Linked DNA regions of Homo sapiens: region 2 is linked to region 1. The links are contacts of gene promoters, found by promoter capture Hi-C in blood cells and fetal thymus (Javierre and others, 2016). All regions are on one chromosome and are shown on one strand. The core of a region is centred on a gene start or on the middle of the fragment in contact, and the rest is flanking DNA. Distances in the headings are between cores, read along the strand shown. Region 1 holds the start of LINC01480 (long intergenic non-protein coding RNA 1480). Region 2 holds the start of SERTAD3 (SERTA domain containing 3).

Region 1 (5,772 bases), core at 1,598-4,097:
TACAAATGCGGTATGTACCCATGAAGCAGGGAGAACCTGGAGATTAGGAATTAACTGCCCTCACCTATGTTTCCTTTTCTCCCTGCTGTTGAAAAACTTTGAGTTCCCTGGGCCTTTTTATCCCATGAGGCATGGCCTCCTTCTGTGGGATGGGGTTCAGTCAGCAGGAATTGGTCCTGTCCATTTACATTGTGCCTGTTGCCTGGCTTTGAATTCCTCAGACCTGCTTTCTCTTTCTAGGGCCTCAGCCTGAAGCTTGGAATTGAGTTTGGGACTGAAAAAGCATTTCAGAGGCTGTTTATATCCATTTAGTGCCTCAAATAAGCCCTGCTGAATTTGCAATTATCAGCCAGCAGGGGTCACTCCTCTGTTAACTTCCCTATTAGAAACAGAGCGGTGGGGATTCTCACTTAGAAAAGAAAAAAAGAGAAAAACAGTTAAAGAGGCAAAAAGTGGGGAATGCTGGGGGAAGAACCCCTTGCTTAGTGCAAGTGGGCCCCTCTAATCCTTATAACTTTCCCATCCTTCCCCCAGTTCAGACCAGGTTGAATTCCTTGGCCATGGAAGGAAAGGTTCCATTGATGCAGTGGGTGAGAAGCACTCTGTAGGGTCCTGGCTACCATCGGTTTTCTCACACCCCCCTCATCCCAGGCAGTGGAGGGAGACACTTCTGCGACATTGCTCCCCCTGCCCCTTCATGGCTATTGGGTGTGGCCTTTGCCTGCTGCAGGCATGCCTAGGTGCTGGAGCTGGGAGGGAAAAGGGTAAGGAGAGGTGCCCTGGAAGCCGCTCATGCCTGGGGCTGTCAAGGTGGAGGCATACATGGCACCTCTAGGAAAAATTGGTCTGATTTGCACCTTTGGCGGCTGAGCCAAATGCTCATTTTACTTAGTAACATTGCCTCAGCCTGTAGCAAAACTCTTAACATTATAAAGGAAGAGATAAGATCCATTTCAAATAATGTGTGAGAGAGAAAAGAGATGAAAGGAAAACAGAGTCTTTTACCTGCAGGAAAGGGAGAGAAGTGGCAGAGTTTTGGAAGAAAGGCAGGCCCAACAGTTTCCCATTCACTCACACTCACCTTCCGAGATCCCAGACGAGCCACCAGTTGAAATGGGAAAAGTTTCCTTGTCCCCCTCACAGGAGGTGGAGTGGGGGTGTGGCTTGCTTCTTTAGTACTCCGCTGCTCAAACCTCTAGGGAAGCATACAGACTGGCAAGTTGTGGGGCTACAACCCCATGGCAGCATCTAGGGGTAGATGTTTACAGCTGCTGAAGCCCCAGTGGACATGTGGTACCATGTGCTCTTTTAGTTTTGCCATCTATAGGTGGCTTTGTGGTAACCAGCTCAATTAGACCCATTCCTTAACCCAAAGACAGAGGGCTTTCTGTATCCCGCGGTTGTTACCTAGGTGTACCAGAAAAATCAAATCACACGTGGTCTTGGAGAATGAGTGCAAGGTTTTATTGAGTGGAAGTAGCTCTCAGCAGATGGGGGAGCCAAAAGGGAGAATAGTTTTCCCCTGAAGTCGGGTTATTCAGCGGCCCAGGCTCTCCTCTGGCTGCCCCAGCCAAACTCTATGTCAATCCATTGGTCGGTGGCCTGCCAGAGTGCTGGTGCCTGTTGGTGGATTCCTCTCAGCGTCGAGAGTTTTTCCCTCTCAGGAAAGGGAGAGAAGTGGCAGCCACCCATGTGTTCTTGCACTGATGTGCTCCTCTCGACGTCCAACCTCCTGTGTGTCTGCCTGCTAGGGTCCCAGGGTTTTTTTAGGCACAGGATAGGGCATGGTGGGCCAGGGTGATCTTGGGAAATGCAACATTTGGTCAGGAAAACAAAAATGCCTGTCCTCATCTAGGTCCAGGGGCACAAGCCCAGGTTTGGAGCCCTAGCCAGGGACCCCGGCCTCCTCTACCCATCACTTTCCTTCACCTTTTCTGTATCATTCAAAGGGACCATGCCCTTCCCTTCCCAGCACTTCTCTTCTGTATCAATAGGTGATGTTTTTAAAATTTCCCAACTCTAGTGCAGGCATGGTACTAGACATATACATAGAAATAAAACCACACTTATTCTTCTGGCTGGCAAGACATAGTATTTTTGCCAAATTATGTGTTGTTTTGAAGCATTTTATGTACCCCTGGTCATATAAAAATAAAGCTATTTTGTTCAGTACAAACAGCAGCATTTTCTGGATTAGAAAGTTAATCATCTTAAAAGATCATCACGGATTTTTCCATTGCACTCATCACTAATTGCTTTGGCAAAAAATTTCTTATCTCACGCATGACAAAATCAGCCGCAGTATCTCCTAGTAATTTAATGGTGATGATCTTTATAAAGGAAATAAGCACATCAAGGGAAAACATAATTTTTTTAAAAAAAAGAGTAATAAAACTTTTTAAAAGTCTTTTTTAAAAGACTGCTTTTCTAAAATAGTAAAATAAAACTCCACCAATAAAACCACCAACAAAACAGAAAAGAAAAAATAATGATATGATCGGAGCTATTTGATGAAAGATGGTAAATTAAATTTAAAATGATTAGAAGAGAAAAAGCAATACCTGTCTCCCGTAGGTCTCAGTCCAGGTTCTGCTATGCCTTTCTCCTGGTGAGCCACCTATTTAAGAGTCGCTTAAAGCATATGTTAATCCAACAACAGCAGATTAAAAACCAATGCAATCTGAACTATTTGATCTAAAAACATAAATAAAATTTAAAACAAATAAAAGAGAAAAAGCAGTACCTGTGTCCTGTAGGTCTCAGTCCAAGATCTGCTCTGACTCCCTTGTGGTGAGTTAGCCCTTTAGAAGTCACTTGGGGTGGGGCATATGTTAATTCCACTAACATTGGTTCTGGCCAATGAGTCAGGAAGGTGGTAAATGGCACCTTTTCTTCTTGCTGATTTCTTTCAGTTCCTTTGGAGTCTGGACATTAGTCCTTTGTCAGATGCCTAGTTTGTGACTACTGTTTCCTATACTGTGGGTTGTGTGTTTACCCTGCTGATATTTCTTCTGCCTTGCAGAAGATTTTCGGTTTCATTAGGTCCTATTGATCTTATTCTATTTTTATATTTTTGCGTTTGCTTTTGGGGCATTAGTCATGACTACTTGGCCTAAGCCAATGTCTAGAAAAGCTTTTTGGATGCTATCTTGTAGCATTTTTAGACTTTCAGGTCTTAGATGGAAGTTTTTATATGCTTTGTTAAAGATCAGGTGACTGAAAGTACCGGGCTTTGTTTCTCGGTTCTCTATTCTGTTCCATTGCTCTATGTGCCTATTTTTATACTTCCTGCACCATTTATTGAATAAAGTGTCCTTTCCCCAATTAGTGTTTTTGCATACTTTGTTGAAGATTAGTTGTCTGTAAGCATTTGGCTTTATTTCTGGGTTCTCTATTCTGTTCCATTGCTCTATGTGCCTATTTTTATACTTCCTGCACCATTTATTGAATAAAGTATCCTTTCCCCAATTAATGTTTTTGTGTACTTTGTTGAAGATTAGTTGTCTGTAAGCATTTGGCTTTATTTCTGGGTTCTCTATTCTGTTCTATTGCTCTATGTGCATATTTTATACCAGTATCATGCTATTTTGGTGATTGTAGCCTTGTAGTATAATTTAAAGCCTGCCTTCAGATTTGTTCTTTTTGCAAAGTATTGCTTTGGATATGCGGTCACGTTTTTGGTTTTGTATAAATTTTAGGATTCTTTTTTCTAGTTCTGGGAAGGAGAATGATGATATTTTGATGAGAATTCTACTGCTCTGTAGATGGCTTTGGAGAGTATGGTCACTTTCACAATATTGATTCTACCTATTCATAAGCTTATAATGTGTTCCCATTTGTTTGTGTCAACTGTGATTTCTTTCAGCACTATTTTGTAGTTTTCCTTGTAGGAAACTTACATTAACCTACTTGGTTAAGTATATTTCTAAGTATTTTACTTATTAAAAATTCTCAGGGAAATGCAAAGTAAAACTGAGGTGGGAAATTAAAGAAAAATAAAATTAAAAAGAAAGGGAAATAAGCTTTCTTGTATTAAGCTAACTTGTCCCAGAGGCAGCAACAGGCACAGCCCAGACCCAGGAAAAGTCTTGATAATATTATTTATTGTATTCTGGAGACTCTTCCAGCACTCCTTCAATGTAGGGAGAAGAAAAACAAATTTTCCTTTGTTTTATGGTATGAGTTTATAGATTCTTGTTCTCTTTAACTAGTAACTTCAAGTATTCTGTTTTATCTAAGAAGTATGGCAAAGGTCATGAGAAGCCTGAGCAGGCCTGAACTACAGCTCTCTAGGCACCATAGTGAAGATAAACCAATGCAAGCCTCTTTAGAGCAAAACCTAGATAATAGACATCTGGGTTGCATAGCAACAGTTATGTGCAATCCTGAGTTATGAACCTGTTACAATTTGATTAACTGTCTTTTTCCTGCCTCTGTATCCCTGCTTTCACACCACTGTAAGCTTGCTTCAAGCTGGCCCACCCCCTTTTGTGAAGTGTGTATAAAAGTCAAGTGCTGTCTTTGTTCCAGGCCCTGTCTTTGGACGTGAGTCTGCTGGGCCTGAGAGCACTCAATAAAAGATTCTCCTGTTTTAACCCAAAGCCTCTCTCTCATCCTCCTAAATCCCACAACAAAACCACAATGAGATGCTATCTTAATCTTGCTAGAAGCCCATAATTTAAAAGTCAGAAAACAATAGATGTTGGCATAGATGTGGTCAAAAGGGAGCACTTTGACACTGCTAGTGGGAATTTAAACTAGTCCGACCACTATGGTAAACAGTATGGGGATTCCTTAAAGAACTAAAAGTAGACCATTCATTCCAGCAATCCCATTACTGGCTATCTACCCAAAGGAAAAGAAGTTATTCCATAAAAAAGACACAAGAATATGGATGTTTATAGCAGCCGATTCGCAATTGCAGTGATATGGGACCAACTTAAGTGCCCATCAACGAACGAGTGGATAAAGCAAATGTGGTACACCATGGAATAATACTTGATAATAAAAAGGAACAAAATAATGTCCTTTGCAACAAGTTGGATGGAACTGGAAGCCATTATTCTAAGTGAAGTAACTGAGGAATGGCAAATCAAATATTGAATGTTTTCACTTTTAAATGAGAGTTAAGCTATGAGAATGCAAAGGCATAAGAATGATATAATGGACTTGGGGACTCGGGGAAAGGTTGGGAGGGGGATGAGGAATAAATGATGACATATTGGGTATATTATACACTGCTCAGGAGACAGATGCCTCAAAATCTCAGAAATTACCACTAAGGAACTTTTATCCACATAACCAAAAACCACATATATTCCACACACTATTGAAAGAAACATAAACATTATTTTAAAAAATAAAGCCACTTTTAAAATTAGCAAAATAAAATAAATATGTCTTCAGAGTTTAGATATTGGATCCAAATTAGACAGATCAAATACTGCCTTTACTAAATATTTTCATGTCATTAACAACTTCTAAAACCTTTCAAACAGTTTTTTGACATGTCTTGGAACCATCCATTTCTAGCTAAGGCCTGGGCACCTGTGAAATAGGGCCATGCCCCCCCTTATACTGGGAAGAGTAAGATATTTCAAGACTAAGATGTTTTCTACAGCTCCATCTTTTTCTTTAAGCTCTACATCAAGGACATAATTAAAATTGGTTGTCTCCTAAGTGGTTTACTAAAAATGCATACTTAAGAGTTACCATTATAATTAATATTTGTATCTAAAGCTACTTAAAAATTTTCACACACAAATCTGACTG
Region 2 (5,772 bases), core at 1,969-4,468, 1.1 Mb after region 1:
CTCCCCAGTAGCTGGGACTACAGGCGCCCACTACCACACCCAGCTAATTTTTTTGTATTTTTAGTAGAGACAGGGTTTCACCGTGTTAGCCAGGATGGTCTTGATCTCCTGACCTCATGATCCGCCTGCCTCGCCTCCCAAAGTGCTGGGATTACAGGCGTGAGCCACTGCGCCCCGCCCAGTAACAGTTTATTGAGTCTGGCCAGGCATGGTGGCTCATGCTTGGAATCCCAGCACATTGGGAGGCCGAGGCGGGTAGATCACTTGAGGTCAGGAGTTCAAGACCAGCCTGGCGAACATGGTGAAACCCTGTCTCTACTAAAAATACAAAAATTACCCAGGCGTGGTGATGCACACTTGTAATCCCAGCTACTTAGGAGGCTGAGGCAGGAGAATCGCTTGAACCTGGGAGGTGGAGGTTGCAGTGATCCGAGATTGTGCCACTGCACTCCAGCCTGGGTGACAGAGCGAGACTCCATCTCAATAATAATAATAATAATAACTTAGCTGGGCATGGTGGTGTGCACCTATAGTCCCAGATACTCAGGAAGCTGAGGTGGGAGGATGGCTTGAAGCCAGGAGTCCAGGTTGGGCAACATAGTGAGACCCCATCTCTACAAAATAATTTTTAAAAACTTAGCTGGGCATGGTGGTGTGTACCTGTAGTCCCAGATACTCAGGAGGCTGAGGCGGGAGAATGGCTTGAGGCCAGGAGGTCAAGGCCTGGCCACTGCACTCCAGCCTGTAGGACAGATCCAGACCCTGTCTCTGAAAATAAAAAAAAGTTTGTGCTTTATTTTGAGGATTTATGCAAGGAGTGGAGCACCAGAGAAGTAAGGCAGGGGGGACAGTTGGGTGTTTTATGAAGCTTCCTTTGGCTACTCTGTGAAGGTGGAAAGGAAGGGTCCAGGAATGGAGGCTGATAGCCCAGAGGGAGTTGGAGGAGGAACTGTAAGGAGGGGAGGAGAGAGTGGGTGTGAGGAATGCCTGGGAGCCTGCGTGGACAGTTGGTGAGGGGTGGAGGGGAGGCATCAGAAAGAAGCATACGGCTGTAACCCGGGGACAGAGTTACACTAGTGCTTCAGGAGGGAGGCTGAGGCTGCAGTGAGCCAAGGTGCGCCACTGCACTCCAGCATCCACGACGGAGTGGGACCCCGTCTCAAAAACAAAAACCCAAATGCAGTAGGGCTTTCCTGAGTTGTGGACCCTATAGGAGGCGCAGGTTTTGGAGGAGGAAGGGGAAGAATTGCTCCTTCCTAATTATGTCCTTTTTTGGAACCTACTGTCCCTTTCTTTTTTTCCCAGGGACACCTTCCCTAGGCCTGGGTGAGCTAAGACACTTCTCTCTCCCTACCTCCAACCCACACCACCCACCTACCTATTCCCCTCCCATTTATCCTGCAAACATCAGGATGACTTGGTTGACAAACTCCAACCGGCAAGAACTGGTCTGAGGAGGCTTAAACCTCCCTTCCCAGAGGTGGCCTGGAGAAAACTGCCTCCTCCCCTTAGGGAAACTCGTTGTAGGGGCGGAGCATTACGGGTGTGGGCTTTCAGGACACTAGCAGTGTCTTCTTTCTGCCTTATTTTTCTGTCACATTCCTGAGCATTTAGCAAACTTTCACTGGGACCTGCTACGTGTCCAGCCCTGTGCTAGGTGATCCTGCAGACCAAGAGGTGGTTGACAGAGATATCCTTGGTACCTGCCCTCGGCGGGGCGTTCCTCAGTCCATATAGTAACTGACAGTCCAGGACTGGGATGGCGGCACAGGAGGCCATGGAATCCTAGAATGGATCCTAACCCAACCTGGACTGCCAGGGAGGGCTTCGGAGAGGAGGAAACCTTTGAAATGTGTTCTGAGAAGCAGCCTGGGAATTGAGGGTATATTTTGAGGATGAGGAAACAAGTTTAAATATCCAGAGGCGAGAAGATTGCTTGAGGCCAGGAGTTCAAAACCAACCTGGGCAACACAAGAAAACCCCCCTCCCCCCTCCCCCATCTCTCTGTCACCCAGGCTGGAGTGCAGTGGCACGATCTCGCCTTCACTGCAACCTCAACCTCCCAGGTTCAAGCGATTCTCCTGCCTCAGCCTCCCAAGTGGCTGAGATTACAAGCGTGCGCCACCACGCCCAGCTAATTTTTGTATTTTTAGTAGAGACGGGGTTTCACCATTGTTGGCCAGGCTGGTCTCAAACTCCTGACCTCAAGTGATCTGCCCGCCTCCGCCTCCCAAAGTGCTGGGATTACAGGCGTGCGCCACTGCGCCCGGCAAAAAATAATATTAATAATAAAGATCCAGAGGCCTTTTATTGTCATGTTTGCGAACTTATTATGTACCTGGCATTGTTGTAGACACTGGGGTAAAGCAGGGAAGAAAACAAACAGAGAAAATCCTTTCGTTTTCCTGATGGGGTGAATGGGAGCTTGAAGCCATTTTAGAAAAACTGGAAGTGACTCAATGGGGCAGGATCGGAGAGAACCAGGAGAACGCATCAAGCAAGGTCGTGAGGGGCTTTGTGGCAAAAGGAAGGAGTTTGAAGTTTGTATTCGGGGTGGGTAGGAAGCCATGAACAGTAGCAGAGGAGTCATCTTGATGGAGCGGGGAAGGAAAGAGGGTGTCAGAAGACCCAGGTGGGACCACCAGAGGACGTGCTGAGAAAACCTGAGGATTAAGAAGGGGCCGCGCGGTAACGTATAGGGGGCGGGAGGGGCAGCAAGGGGGCGAGGCTACGATCGCCTAGGCAACGCGGGCCGCGCCACTCTATTGGCTGGTCTTCCGCTACGTCATCCCCCGCGCCCCAGCGTCCTCCCTCGGAACCCCGGGGGCGCGGCCTCCTCCGGTTGCTCGGCCCCGCCCGCCTGCACAGCGACTTGGGGAGGGGCATGCCAGCCCCTCTGGCTCCACGGTGGAGTCCAGGCCTACCATAAAGGAACCGCAGGGAGCAATGGTGACGATCTTGGAGCGAGGACTGTAGCTGAGTGGAAGGAAGCGGTTCTGTTGGACCGGCCGCCCTCCACCCCGGAGTCGCTGCCCCGCCCCCTGCCAGTTGCACTTCTTTAAATGGCCCGGGGCGCTAGGGAGGGGTGGGCGGATCCGGCGTCTCGGGGCACGGGCGGATGGCTCCGCCCAGCCAATCGACGCCCCGCGGCGGGCGGGACTCCAGCCAATCGCGGCTCGCGGCTCGGCTCCGGGGCGGGGCTGGTGGGCCAGAGGCCAGACGGAGAGGCCCCGCCGAGGTGAGCGAGGCTCCAACCGGTCACTGGTGGGTCCTGGCACTGGCGGGTCGCAACGCTGTGGGCGTTCCAGGAGGTGGTCGTGGCGAACCTGGCAGCTGCGGTGAGGAGTGGTCGCCTGGCTTGGGAATTTACCTTAGGCTGGGGGAGAGAGAAGCGCGCCCCGGGGACTTGCGGAGGCGGGGTCTGGGTGGGACCGGGGGAGGGGGCCTCAGATTCAGGGTGATGATAGGGAGGGTCTGGGGACCTGAGACTGAGTTCAAGACCCAGGAGGGGAGGCGAGGTTGTTGGGGCAGTATTTTCAAGTGGAGGGAGTTTGAAGCTGGGACGTTGGGCTTTTGGAGAAGCGAGAGAACAGAGGGGAGGAACTTTTGAGACAGGGAACCTGGAGATTCGATTCCACTTGGGTCTTCCGGACGGGTTGAATTCGGGGCTTTATCGTGTTCTGGAAAAGGTGTGAGAGGTACGGAGCTGAGATTCTGAGTATTTGGAGAAGCGAGAGAACTAGGGTCAAGGATTCTTGGGACTCCAAGACGCACTGGCGGGGGAAGGAGGTTGCCGGGAAGAGTTCAATGTTCGGGTCTTGGAGCCGGACAGCGAGTTTGGAGGTGAAGTCCAGGGGCGTTTGAAAGTCAGGAGACTAGGAGAAGTGGGAGGAAGTATCAGAATTAGGATACGTAGTCTCCCGAACTAGATCGGAGCATTGTCGTCTTTGAGCGATGTGTTCGGATCTGGGTCTCTGGATCCAAGGGCAGTTTGGAAGGAGAATCGCGGACTTTCAAGGAACAGAGGGACCGGGAGAAAGCAAATTTAGAGCCGGAGTCTGGGGTGGGGGAGGGGTGTTCCGGGCCTGGAGCTCAGACTCGCGGCCCCGGAGGCAATGGAGGGCGGGGCTCGGCAGGCGCCGGCAGCTGGACGTCCAGGTTCCCTTCCCCCACCCGCCTGTGCCCCTGTGCGCATGCCCTGAGGGAGAGCGGGGTGAGGGGGGTGGCTCGTCCCCTGGACGGGCGGAGCCCTCTGGGGATTGTAGTGCGTGCTCGACGTCAATTCGTGTACCTGGCGGCTGTTGGCCCCCGTTTCCCAGAAGCCCCTGGGCCAAATTGGGGCGTTCCTGGATGCTCTGTAAGGACCCATGGGGGGGCGGGGCCTTACAGTGTCGCGGTCTGATTGAGTGGGACCTCCGAGGGGGCGGGGCTTGGTCTGAGCTGAGTTCTAGCAAGTTTTCCTATGGGGCGCGCTTTGGGGGAATCTGAAAGCGTGGGCAGAGGGAATGAGACAGGCCCCTTTCCTACTCTTGGGAGCGCTCCCAGTCGGTTAAGGAAGAGGACATAGAAATATCCCGACTGTTGAAGAAGAATCTCAACATAGGTTCCCCAACAGGGCTCCAGGAGATTTCGAATATAGTAGGCACTCAGTAAATCTGTTGAGCGAATAACTGGCAATTAACTCTTGATCGAGGCCGGGTGTGGTGGTAATCCCAGCTACTCAGGAAGCTGAGGCGGGAGGATCGCTTGAGCCCAGGACTTCGAGACTGCAGTGAGCTGTGATAGCGCTGCTGCACTCAGCCCTGGGCGACAGAGCGAGACCCTGTCTCTAACAAAAAACAAACACAACTCTTGTTCATTAAGCACTTCCGGTGTGGTGGGCCCTATAGATACGTGGCATCTCCTTGACAGAGGTGGTGAGAAGTATTTTTTTACAGTCCCTATTTTACAGATGAGGAAACTGAGGCCCTGAGAATTGACTCATTCAGATCACTTCCCATGATCACGCAGCTGAGCAGTTTCCAATACAGAATTCAGATTTGGGGTTCCCTACTTCCAATCCAGGTCTCTGTGCTCCACACTTGTCTTTCGTGCTCCATGTTTGAAGAAATTAATATTGTGGAAGAACAGTTTTAAGGCTTAGAGGAACTTGAGTTAGGATCCGTACTTGGCAGATGAGGAAATTGATTCTCATGGATGTAAATTCACTGTTTGAGGCCACAACAGGCAAGTAAGTGAGATTTAAATCTAGCTGTACGTAACGCCAGATCTTATTTTCTTAATCGTATATGTACTCACCTTCTTAAACTTGTAGGATTCAGACAGCCTTCATTTTATACATCAGTAAACTGAGATTCCGATGATTAAAAATCACTAACAACTCAATAGGCCTGAGAAAGTGGGATATGAGCCAGCACTACGGTGTCTGGTGTCTGACCTTCCCCTATGCGCCTCTTCTCTCTACAGGGCATCATGGTGGGAGGCTTGAAGAGGAAACACTCTGATTTGGAAGAGGAGGAGGAGAGGTGGGAGTGGAGTCCAGCAGGCCTTCAGAGCTACCAGCAAGCCCTGCTCCGCATCTCCCTAGACAAAGTCCAGCGCAGCCTGGGCCCCCGAGCACCCAGCCTCCGCAGGCATGTCCTCATCCATAACACCCTCCAACAGCTGCAGGCTGCACTTCGCCTGGCTCCCGCCCCTGCCCTGCCCCCCGAGCCCCTCTTCCTGGGCGAGGAGGATTTCTCCCTGTCAGCCACCATTGGCTCTATCCTCAGG

What was found. Contacts are between HindIII fragments. The CHiCAGO score rates a contact against its expected background, and 5 or more counts as called.
Region 2: the fragment with the promoter of SERTAD3 here is called in contact with the fragment with the promoter of LINC01480 in region 1 in 1 of 17 cell types (naive CD8 T cells); the score reaches 6.9 in naive CD8 T cells.

The regions. Positions count from the first base shown.
Region 1 is chr19:41,532,573-41,538,344 of GRCh38, reverse strand. It overlaps LINC01480 (long intergenic non-protein coding RNA 1480), which reads right to left and starts at 2,847. Exons shown (of 3, transcript NR_110724.1): 1 at 2,744-2,847; 2 at 2,562-2,631; 3 at 1,441-1,744. The HindIII fragment of the contact is 2,878 bases long and covers 258-3,135 here.
Region 2 is chr19:40,441,781-40,447,552 of GRCh38, reverse strand. It overlaps SERTAD3 (SERTA domain containing 3), which reads left to right and starts at 3,218. Exons shown (of 2, transcript NM_203344.3): 1 at 3,218-3,338; 2 at 5,467-5,772. The coding sequence starts at 5,473. It overlaps SERTAD3-AS1 (SERTAD3 antisense RNA 1), which reads right to left and starts at 3,036. Exons shown (of 2, transcript NR_187496.1): 1 at 2,925-3,036; 2 at 2,290-2,663. RefSeq lists silencers at 2,687-2,906, 2,967-3,286, 3,467-3,526, 3,992-4,371. The HindIII fragment of the contact is 20,405 bases long and covers 871-5,772 here.